Regions from separate parts of the Homo sapiens genome. Here region 2 is linked to region 1. Evidence: promoter capture Hi-C in 16 types of primary human blood cells and fetal thymus (Javierre and others, 2016). All regions are on one chromosome and are shown on one strand. Each heading gives the region's core, a stretch centred on a gene start or on the middle of the fragment in contact. The rest is flanking DNA. Distances are from core to core; before and after follow the strand shown. Region 1 holds the start of WFDC3 (WAP four-disulfide core domain 3). Region 2 overlaps LOC107987282 (a long non-coding RNA gene).

Region 1 (5,900 bases), core at 325-2,824:
AAGTGCTGGGATTACAGGCGTGAGCCACCGCGCCCGGCCAATTTTTTGTTATTTTTAGTAGAGACGGGGTTTCTCCATGTTGGTCAGGCTGTTCTGGAAGTCCCGACCTCAGGTGATCCACCCACCTCAGCCTCCCAAAGTGCTGGGATTACAGGCGTGAGCCACCGCGCCCGGCCCAAAGTGTTTTTATGAAATATAATACTTATACAGAAAAGTCTATACACTTTAATGAGTAATTATAGTGAACATCCATTTCACCACTATCAGCATCCCAAAGGCCCACCTTGTGCTCTCTCCCTTCCCTGACATGCATACTATTAATCCCTCTTTATAGTTGAGAAAACGGGCTCATCAGAGTCTGTTGATGAGAACACAGTTGTCTGACTCCAGAGCCTGTTCTCTTAAACTCCATGCTAACTGACCTCTTTAGAGCCCTCAACCACAGAGCCAGTGAATGTGAGGGATCTTAGGTATTGTTTATTCCACAACCCATCTCCTGTGCCCTTCCCCATTTTGTACGTGAGTTCAGAGAAGGAAGTGACTTGACTAGTTCAAGATCACACAGAGTTACAGAATCGGAGTCTCCTCTTCCTCAGTCCTGTGCTCTTTCTACCGGCTGTAGATCTCCATAGCCTTGTGCACTGGGGATCCCAAATCTGCCATGCAAGCCAGTGGCTGGGATATAAGCCCCATGCAGGGCCAGCCTTACCTTGTTGTCATCTGTGAGCGGCGGCCCCTCCGCTGCACCTGCCGGTGCTTTATCATTATGTTCCAAGGGTTCTGTGGGGACCAACGGAACAAATGTCACTGCGGCCTGTGACACTGGGGTGGGGTGGAGGTGGAGGGTGGGTATGAAGTTAAACCTGGACATCCCTGCTTCTCAGATCCGTCACCATCTCTCCCGCCTTGGGGTGGGACGATAGTTGTAAGGCCTCCTCCACAAAAGAGGAACTGAGGAAGTTTCCTGCCTTAAAAGTCCCGACCCTGCCTTCTGGCACGGCAGGAGGAAGGGAAGCAGTATTTACCGAGGGTCAACTCTGTGTCAGGTGATGTCCGGGGCGTTGTACCCGCCTTTATCTTCCCATCCCACAACAAGTTTTATGAGACAGGTACTAATCATTTCCATTTTATAGAAGAGGATCCTGGGACTCAGGGGGTTGACAGAGATGGCCCACGTCACCTAGCTAGGAGGGCGGCACCAGAATTTAAATCCAGGTCGTCGGGCTGCGAAAACGCCAACCCCCTCTGCAGCTCCAGCCTCCGCGTTCTCTCGCCCGCGGGCCAGGGTCCCAGGAGCCCCGAGGCCGTGCCCGGCCTGAGCCCAGACCTCACCGGGGGCGCCCTCACCGTAAGAACCAGCTGCCCCGCTGCGCCCGCATCCCCCAGCTCCAAGCCGCCCCTCTCGGCCCCGCTAGGTCCCCGCGGCTGCTCGGCGTCGCCAGTGGCTCCCATGGCGCCCCCGGCCCCCACAACTCCGCTGGACTCTGTCACCGGCCGGAAAGTGGCGCCGTGACGTCACTGGAGCGCGCTGCTCGTCCGCCCGGAAGCGCGACGCTGGAGCTGCGGGGTTACCATGGGAACCGAACCGCCGCGCCTCGCCCAGGACAGTTACACTTAGAGGCCTTGTAGGTGGAGGTCGTTGGGGCTTCCTCTCGGGAGGGCTGCGCCTCGATTGTGCAGTGTGGGTGTTCAGTGGCGGTTCAGTCAAGGGATGTTTCCCGCTGGGCCAAGGCCTGGGGATGACTGCGGGGTAGGAGGAAGGGACCAGTTTTCTGTAGGCTGGGGTTGGGGAGCAGAGGGAAGCGTTTGGTACAGCGGCGCCTGCAGTTCAGTTTTTGAAAACTAGATTTTAATATGCTCGGCCAGGGGCGGTGGCTCACGCCTGTAATCCCAGCACTTTGGGAGGCCGAGGCGGGAGGATCACTTGCCATCAGGAGTTCGAGACCAGCCTGGCCAACATGGCGAAACCCCGTCTCTACTAAAAATATAAAAATTAGCCGGGCGTGGTGGTGGGCACCTGTAATCCCAGCTACTCGGGAGGCTGAGGCAGGAGAGTCTCTTGAACCCAGGAGGCGGAGGTTGCAGTGAGCCGAGATCACGCCACTGCACTCCAGCCTGGGCGACAGAGGGAGACTGTCTCAAAAAAAAAAAAAAAAAAAGCACATTAGGCACATGTTAGGTCATCATCAAATGTTAATTATGCCGAGATCGCGCCACTGCATTCCAGCCTGGGGGACAGAGGGAGACTCTGTCTCAAAAAAAAAAAAAAAAAAAAAAAAAAAAGCATATTAGGCACATATGAGGTCATCATCAAATGTTAATTATCTCCATGAGCCAACATCAGCCTTCTAACCATAAGGGCGACTTCCTGGCTCCAAACTTTTTGATCCTATTAAGGAGGTTTTACCTTGTACCTGCCCATAGGACTAAGCAGTGCCAGTGGACACCATTAGGTATCACAGCTAACCAAAGGCATGACCAGGACAGATAAAGAAAAAAAGAAATGGAGAAAAAAGAAATAAAGGAGGTATATGTGGGCAGACTATTTGAGTCATACATAGCAACTTCTCTTGGGTTCTGCCAGCTAGACTTCATACAGTCCAAGAATGGCCTGTGTGGGTTAGAGGGACAAAGATGTAGGTGTTTGGTGCTTTTCATTAGTTCTTAACAAACTCAACTACTGCTTTTCTGTAGGTTTTTGATAGTTTCTTTTCTCTCTTTTTTTTTTTTTTGAGACAGAGTCTCACTCTGTTACCCAAGCTGGAGTGCAGTGGCATGATCTCCACTCACTGCAACCTCTGCCTCCTGGGTTCAAGCTATTCTCCTGCCTCAGCCTCCCACGTAGCTGGGATTACAGGCATGCACCAGCATGCCCAGCTGATTTTTGTATTTTTAGTAGAGACAGGGTTTCGCCATGTTGGCCAGGCTGGTCTCAAACTCCTGACCTCAGGTGATCTGCCCGCCTTGGCCTATTTGATAGTTTCTGAGTGGTCTGTTCCATTCTGTATTTTCTTGGTTGCTAGGATGAACAGGAGCCACAATTTTATTATGCTTGGTTATGTTATTAGCTTTGGCCATTAAGTAGTGTCGTGAATCCCTCCCTCTGTTATTTGGGCTAAAGCCATGTCCTTCCAATGCCCTTTAGGGCTCTCTTTGATTCTTTTTCCAATGGCCACCCCTCCATTTTTCCAGCCACCCACTAGGTTTCTCATCATCCAGGAATATTGTGTATATTGCTTACAGAATTTGATCCTCCCATCACAGGTCCCCTTTGGTAGTGCCAGGAATTTTCCCACACTCCAGCAGCCAATCCCTCTTCTTCTTGTCAGGAGAAGATATTCTTGGGGAGTATTGTGAAAGGGAAGGTTTTGGGACTGGGTTTGGGGCCATCCCTAGTCCTGCTCATACCTCAGCTGATACTCTGGGCAAGGTGTACACCTCTAGCCTGAACTGAGCTCTTGTCCCAACTCTCAGCATCATCATGATGTTAAGCTGCCTCTTTCTTCTGAAGGCACTTCTTGCTCTTGGGTCTCTGGAATCCTGGATAACTGCAGGAGAACATGGTGAGCTATCATTTGGGATCCCTGGCCAACAGTAACAGAAAGTGACTAGAGGAGAGGAGAACTCATCCCCTGCCTTCTCCCAGAGCAAGGTTGCTTGTAAGTGGAGATGATCATCTCTATAGGACAGGACTGGATGAATAGATTCTCAGGATGGCCTGGGTCATTCTTCCTGGCTTTCTTTACCCTCTCTGGACAAGGAGATAGGACTTCCAGTTGGGCTTACTAGAGGTTCTAGCTTTTCCCTAGAACTCATTAAATGAGAACAGGATCATCCCACCCTTTCTCTCTCGTTATCTGCAGGATGGCTGCTCCTTTAGCAGTGGTGGATATATGTTAGTATTTGTGTATGAGGAGGGGAAGGTGGTTGCAGAATTTTTTTTTTTTTTTTGAGATGGAGTCTCACTCTGTCACCCAGGCTGGAGTGCAGTGGCGTGATCTCAGCTCACTGCAAACTCCACCTCCCAGGTTCACGCCATTCTCCTGCCTCAGCCTCCCGAGTAGCTGGGACTACAGGTGCCCGCCGCCACGCCCAGCTAATTTTTTGTATTTTTAGTAGAGATGGGGTTTCACTGTGTTAGCCAGGATGATCTCGATCTCCTGACCTCATGATCCGCCCGCCTCGGCCTCCCAAAGTGCTGGGATTACAGGCATGAGCTATCGTGCCCAGCCAGAATTTTTTTTTTTTTTTAAGAGACAGGGTCTCATTCTGTCACCCAGGCTAGAGTGCAGTGGTGCAGAAATATTTTGGATAGAGATGCCTGGAGGGGCTGAAGGTCCATTCCCCATTTCTGAGGCCTGGCTAGTTACCCCAAACTCAAATAGTATCTTTTGCAGCAAAAGAGGGAGAATGCCCTCCCCATAAGAACCCATGCAAAGAGCTGTGCCAGGGTGATGAATTGTGTCCGGCTGAACAGAAGTGCTGCACCACAGGCTGTGGTCGGATCTGCCGAGACATTCCTAAGGGTATGTTGGCATGAGGGGCAAAATCTGGGCATACTCTCTGACATTGCCTCTGGGATAGATGGAAGTAGAGAGCTTCCCACCTTCTAGGTTGCCTCTGGAAGTCTCCCTTGCCTAGAGTACTTCTTCTTTACTCTTTTAGGGTCCCTCCTCCTTTAATTATTCAGTGCCCCCAGTTGTTTGCCTTCCATCAGGAAAGAGCGCACCATTGATTATCTATGTCTTTTACTTTGGACTCAAAGTTCCTGTGAAGGCTGGAGGGAAGAGTTGTAAAGGGAAGGCTGTGTAAGATAATGATTAAGAGAGTAGACCCTAGAGCCAAGCAGACCTTTTTAAGCCTTAAGCCTTAGCTCTTTATAAATCTTAAGCTTTTAGCCTCAGTTTCCTCATCTATAAAATGGGGATAATTGTGAGGATCAAATAAGATGTTCATGGCACAAGGTAAACGTCAGTAAATGTTACAGTAAATATTTGCTATTACTATTGTTGTTATTATTGTCTCTTTGTCTTAGCACCAGGGTTGAGAGGCTTAAATAAATCTCAGGACTTCCTTTTTCTGTTTTTCCCTTCTGCTGTGCCCGTGGGTGTTGCCAGGCACTATTTTCTCTCTCTCTCTCTCTTTTTTTTTTGAGACGGAGTTTCGCTCTTGTTGCTCAGACTAGAATGCAGTGGCGTGATCTCGGCTCACCGCAACCTCTGCCTCCCGGGTTCAAGTGATTCTCCTGCCTCAGCCTCCCAAGTAGCTGGGATTTACAGGCATGTGCCACCACCCCCGACTAATTTTGTATTTTTAGTAGAGATGGGGTTTCTCCATGTTGGCCAGGCTGTTCTCGAACTCCCTACCTCAGGTGATCCACCCGCCTTGGCCTCCCAAAGTGCTGGGATTACAGGTGTGAGCCATGGCGCTCGGCCTATTTTCTCTTTTCTTTGCTGTCTCCCTTTTTGCTACAGGGAGGAAAAGAGATTGCCCTAGGGTTATTCGGAAACAATCCTGTTTGAAAAGGTGCATCACTGATGAGACATGTCCAGGTGTAAAGAAATGCTGCACGCTTGGCTGCAACAAGAGCTGTGTAGTCCCAATCTCTAAACAGAAGCTGGGTAAGAAACGCTGTCCCCACACCTCATGGTCTGTTTGGTCTGCTTGTTTATTTCTCAAATATGCACATATCAGCTTGTTGGTTTTACTTTGCTGCTATATTCTAAGACCTTAAAAAAAAAAGATATACAAAGGGTGCACAAGCCATAATCATTTGTGGTATGTAGCCTGGGCAGGCAGAGGGAGGGTGCCAGAAGGGCAGCCTCAACTTACCCTCATTTGCAGACTGCTTTGAAAACGGTTGAGTAGCCAGGTGTGGTGGCTCATGCCTGGAATCCCAG
Region 2 (5,900 bases), core at 1,040-3,539, 290 kb after region 1:
GTCACAGTCTTTTGTTTTTAGACGGAGTCTCACTCACTCTGTCACCCAGGCTAGAGTGTAGTGGTGCAATCTCGGTTCACTGCAACCTCCACCTTCCAGGTTCAAGCGATTCTCCTGCCTCAGCCTCCCGAGTAGCTGGGATTACAGGCATGTGCCACCATGCCTGGCTACTTTTGGTATTTTTAGTAGAGATGGGGTTTCACCATGTTAACCAGGCTGGTCTCGAACTCCTGACCTCAGGTGATCCACCTGCCTCGGCGTCCCAAAGTGCTGGGATTACAGGTGTAAGCCACCAAGCCCAGTCAGTCTTTTTTTTATTAATACATAATTGTTATACATATTTATGGGGGGCATTTGATATTTTGATACATGCACACAATGTATAATAATCAAATCAGAATAACTGGCATATCCATCACCCAAGGCAGTTATCATTTCTTTGTGTTGGGAACATTCCAAAGTTTTTCTTCTAGCTATTTTGAAATATACAATAAGTTATTGTAGTCATAGTCTTTTGTAACCTAATCTCAGAAGTGACGTCCCAACATTTTCCATGACATCACTACTCATTAGAATCAAGTCACTAGGTTCAGTCCACACTCGAGGAGGAGAACACACAAAGGCATAAAAACCAGGAAGTGGAGGTCATTGGAGTCATCTGAGAAGTCTGACTGCCACCAGGAGCAACTTGCCCAGAGTCAAATGCAGTGAGAGCTTAAAGTCTCAGTTCTTGGCTGGGAGTGGTGGCTCACACCTGTAATCTCAGCACTTTGGGAGGCAAATGTGGGCAGATCACTTGAGGCCAAGAGTTCAAGATCAGCCTGGCCAACATGGTGAAACCTAGTAAAAATACAAAAAAGTTAGCCAGGCATGGTGGTGCACACCTGTAATGCCAGCTACTTGGGTGGCTGAGGCATAAGAGTCACTTGAACCCAGAAGCGGAGGTTGCAGTAAGCCAAATTCATGCCACTGCACTCCAGCTTGAGAGACAAAGTGAGACTCTGTCTCAAAAAAAAAAAAAGTCTCAGTTCTAGAATTGGGAAGATTTGTTTAGAGAAACAGGGTGGGCAGCTTTACCATCATCTGGTTATGACGGATTGTAAGCTTGGACAGAGGTAGTGGCATTGAGAATTCAAAGCAAAAAATAAGAACTGATAAAAACACCCTGCTTTGCTACCAAAAAAGTTTTGCAGCTTCACGTCTCTTCTCTTTAAATCAATAAAAAGGCCACACTGTGGGGAGAAAATGTCGATTCTTTGGTCTCTTCCCTCTCCTCTCCTTCTTCCCTGAGATTTATTCACAGGTGAAAGCTTAAGGCTCATAGTGCCTGGTCCCTATCAGTACAAATACCCAGTAGTTCTAAATCACCATGTCTGGATTCTGAGAGCTCTTGTGTTATAAAAGTTGCTGGCATGCAAAGACAAACAGATAAACTTAACTCTCACAAAGTGTACCAGAGGCTAGTGTGTGCCAGATATGCTACATGAGCACTGGGAAGAACCCTCCTGACATAATATTGAGGTCCCATTAAATTTTTTAATTCACACTTGCTAGAGAAAAATCTTCCAAATGCCCCTTGGGGCAGTGGCAAGCTCCTCAAGTCCTTTAAAAATGTTTCTGGGAAGAATGAAAGAATATATGGGATAGAGAACAGTTTAAGAATATATATTAATGCAGATTCATAGATTTACCCAGTTGACAATATTAGGTAAAGATTTTCTTGTATCATTAAATATTCTGTAACATAATTGCTAATATGTGTAGAGCTTTACTTGCATAAAGAGATCACCATTTATTTAAACAAGCTTCAATGGTTACATGTTAATGTTAAATGTTAAAGGTTGTTGAGGTTTTCTCGATATAGTAAGTAATCACTATGGGTATTTCTGGTTGTTTACTCATGATAGATTCTAAGTGGAATTTCTGGGTCAACTGTGGACATGCATTTGAAAAGCTTTTGACACATAATACCTTCCTTTAAGATTTTAATAACTACTGTTTATGAAACACTTAGGATATGTCAGGAACCAACCTAAGTGCTTTGCATGCATTATCTCATTTAATATTCGCAATAGCCCTGAGAAGAAGATTCTATTAATATCTGTATCTTACAAATGAAAAAGTTGAAGGTCAGAAAGATAAATTACTTGCCCAGAATAACAAATTAGGAAGGAATGAAGATGGTGTTGGAATCAAAGTCTAATTCTAGAGCCAATGCTTTTTAATCAGTTTGCTATCATTAAAGTTCAGCTCTGCCATGACCTATTTACCTCCCCATCCCATAAAATCCCCTGGACCTCTCCATGTAGACTACACAGAGATATTCCAGGCCTGCCTGCTTCTACTCTTCATGTTTACAGCTGTGGGTTCTTGAAAGCAGTGACTTTGCCTTACACATTTCTTCTCTACAGTGAGCCAAGCAAAACGGTATGCACAGAATAAGTACTCAACAAGTACTTGTAGATTAGTTTTGTAGACATGATACCATGGAGGAAAAGAGGGACCTGGGATTTCTTTTTTAGAGTTAAAGTGTTAAGCTATGAGTCAGAGCCATGATTCTCATAGTCTCTGAATTATAGAAGGAAGGAAGGAGAGAAAGAAGGATGGTGGGAAAGTGAAGCTTAATGCCCTCTCGGGAGTAAGACACTCCATTAACTAATGGAGTAAACCCTGGCTTAAGACATTTAACCCAAACCTCAGAGAGATCAGAGTCCCAAACCTCCCCTACCCGCATCGTGCCCACAGGCTCAGAAGAGTAGATGGAACACATCAAAATGTCACATCGTAGGCAAGGATAGGAAGCCAAAAAGGGCTCAGTAAAGGTAGACAAGGGGTCAAGGATAGAATTAGAAAATCATCATTTAACAGCTGGGCATGATGGTTCACACATGTAATCCCAGCACTTTGGGATGCCGAGGTGGGAGGAACTCTTGAGGCTGGGAGTTCAAGACAAGCCTGAGCAATATAACGAGACCGTCTCTACAAAAAACATAAATAAAAGAAAAAAATAAAAGGAAAACATCATCTAGCAACCATTAAATAATCATTGATTTAGGCAAGAATCATCAATGTATGCTAAAACTAGTGGGTAAAATTTTGAGAAGTAATAATATTTTTGCATAGATCCAAAGTATCTTCCCACAAATACTTATTTATTGCAAATGGGAAAATAGGCAGCCACCATCTTACTCAAGTAGTCAAAGTTAACACCATTAGTAACAAAACAAATCAACAGCATGTGCCTCGTGGTATGATCCACCACAAAGAACACAGTATCTTTTCTATAGTATTCCTGCCAGAAACGCATAACATGAATTTAATTGTGAAGAAATAGCAGATAAACTCAATTGAGAGACAGTCTGTAAAATACATGGCCTTTAATCGTCCAAAATGTTAATGTCATGAAAGACAAAAAAAGATTGAGAAACTTTTCCAGATGAAAGAAGATTAAAGGAAGATCTGCTCCTGAACTAAGTAATTTTAAAAAGGAAAAAGAAAGAAGATTAAAGAGGTGTGACAGCTAAATGCAACACAGGATCCAAGATTTTCTTTTGTTGTAAAGGACATTATTGAGACAATTTGTAGAATCCGAATAAGGTCTAGAGATGGGCTTTGTAGGCATGCACCCAAATCACACAGGGCCCTGGACACAGAAGGACCCTGCACCCAGGATGTAATTCCCTGTGGTCATTGTCTTAAAATTCTCAGTTATTTAAATTTGTGTTTGTAAGTGAAGGTTAATTAGACGATGGTGCATGCTCCAGGAGCTAGGCGTCCGGACTCAAGAGCAGTGCCACCTCTTGCTGCCTCCCTGGGATGGGTTCTCAGCAACTCGCCCTCCACCCACTGACACCATGGCTCTGCTCAGCCCGCCCCTTTCCACCTTTGCCCCCTGACTGCTGCTATGCAGATGACAGTTGAATCACATTGGCAAGGGGAGGCTCATGTTCTACCGTTGCCAACCACTCCCAGTGGGGGCTTGGGAAAGGGTGCAGGAAGGGTCAGAGTTAGGTGTGCACATCCTGTGGCATTTCAGGGAGTGCCAATTACTGTCCCAGTCCCAGGCTGGCAGCAGCACAATACATTCAACTGGTGACTTGGCAGGAGCCAGCCTCTCACCTATCCTGATCCTGTACTGAGCATGTCTCAGCACAGAGGTTGCAATCGCTTGGGGACTGCCCATCCATGGGTTGGTGCAATGGACCTATGGACAAGGAAGATTGATTTCCCACCCCTAGCTGGGTCACAGAGCTTCAGTCTGGCAGCTGGCATGAGGAGGAATTCAGCAGCAAGCGGAACCCTCCAGGACACACCACCAAGTAGCGGTCAGGGACCCTAGGTAGTTCTGAGGGTCTGCACTGCTCCACAACTATCCCCGTGCCTGAGGGAGAGTGACAGAAACAATAAATAAAAAGCTCCATGAGAGGTCTAGAGACAGAGAGACTCTGCAAGAAAGAAAAAAGCCTTTTATTTGAGTACCTTTAGTGATGTTTTCCCCTGTTTCTTTGAACAAGGAGCTCCACATTTTTACTTTGCACTGGGTACCCCTACAATTATGTAGCCAGTTTTGCCTCTAGATTAGATAATAGTACTGTATTAATGCTCATTTCCTGAATGTGACTATTGTACTGAGGCTATTTTAAAGAATACCTTTATTTTAGAAAATTCACTGAAGTATTTAAGATGTCTGCAACTTATTCCCATATGCTATGAACAAACATAATATGTGGGGTATATGTGTGTGTATGTGTGTGTGTGTCAGAGAAAGACAGACACAGAGAGGATTAAGAAAAATGTTGTAAAATGTTAGCATTTCGGGAATGTGGGTGAAGGGTATACAGGAAATCTTGGTACTATTTTTGCAACTTTTCTTTCTTTTTGTTTTTATGAGACAGGGTCTCGCTCTGTTTGTCAGGCTGGAGTGCAGTGGCGTGATCACAGTTCACTGCAGCCTGAAACTTCTGGGCTTAAGAGATCCTCTTGCCTCATCCTCCTGAAGAGCTGGGATCACAAGTGTGCACCACCATGCTGGGCAAATTTTTTAATTTTTTTGTAGTGACGGGGTCTCTCCACATTGCCCAAGCTGGTCTCAAACTCCTGAGCTCAAGTGATCCTCTTGCCCCAGCCTTCTGAAGTGCTGGGATTATAGGCATGAGCCACTGTGCTCAGCCATGTAACTTTAAGTCTGAAATTATGTCAAAATTAAACACTGAAAGAAAAGAATAAAACATAAAGAAAACAGTGAAGGGGAAGTCACCACAGTGGTATACAGTGGTATCCTATGAAATCATAGAGAAAAGTATAAGAAATGACAGTGACTCTGCTAATCTGCCACAGCTGAATGGGAATCCCCCAGGATGGATGGAGAACTGTCCTTCTGATAAGCATGTACTCACCTAAGTCATATATTAAGAAGTCAAGAGATTTCTATTATTTCAAACCAGAGTCTCTGGCCCTACAACGTAGATAATGAATGAGCCAATCTAGGGTTTTCTGTGCTCCAACCACTCAACCAACCCAGGCACCTATCATGAGGCTGCAGAGCTCACCGGGTTTTTTGTTTTGTTTTGTTTTTTTGAGACAAGGTCTTGCTCTGTCGCTGAGGCTGGAGTGCAGTAGCACTATCATGGCTCACTGCAGCCTTGACCTCCTGGGCTCAAGTGGTCCTCCCACCTCAGCCTCCCGAGTAGCTGGGACTACAAGCATGCACCACCATGCCTGGCTGTTTTTTGTATTTTTTGTAGAAACCAGCTCAGGCTGGTCTTAAACTCCTTGGATCAAGCAATCCTCCCGCCTCCATCTCCCAAAGTGCTGGGATTATAGGCATGAACTACCACGCCCGACCAACATTGGGGTCTTGTTTGAAGTAGATCCTGTGGTGCCACCTAGCTTCACAGAGC

What was found. Contacts are between HindIII fragments. The CHiCAGO score rates a contact against its expected background, and 5 or more counts as called.
Region 2: a fragment that was not itself captured here is called in contact with the fragment with the promoter of WFDC3 in region 1 in 1 of 17 cell types (M1 macrophages); the score reaches 5.6 in M1 macrophages.

Annotation. Positions count from the first base shown.
Region 1 is chr20:45,787,557-45,793,456 of GRCh38, reverse strand. It overlaps WFDC3 (WAP four-disulfide core domain 3), which reads left to right and starts at 1,574. Exons shown (of 7, transcript NM_080614.2): 1 at 1,574-1,625; 2 at 3,475-3,563; 3 at 4,398-4,526; 4 at 5,475-5,621. The coding sequence starts at 3,482. It overlaps DNTTIP1 (deoxynucleotidyltransferase terminal interacting protein 1), which reads right to left and starts at 1,503. Exons shown (of 13, transcript NM_052951.3): 1 at 1,348-1,503; 2 at 710-780. The coding sequence starts at 1,452. RefSeq lists silencers at 801-940, 1,151-1,420. The HindIII fragment of the contact is 10,060 bases long and covers 1-4,893 here.
Region 2 is chr20:45,498,290-45,504,189 of GRCh38, reverse strand. The region is part of intron 1 of LOC107987282 (a long non-coding RNA gene); the gene reads right to left. Among named protein-coding and RNA genes, the nearest start is that of SPINT3, 14 kb to the left of the region's middle. The HindIII fragment of the contact is 666 bases long and covers 1,957-2,622 here.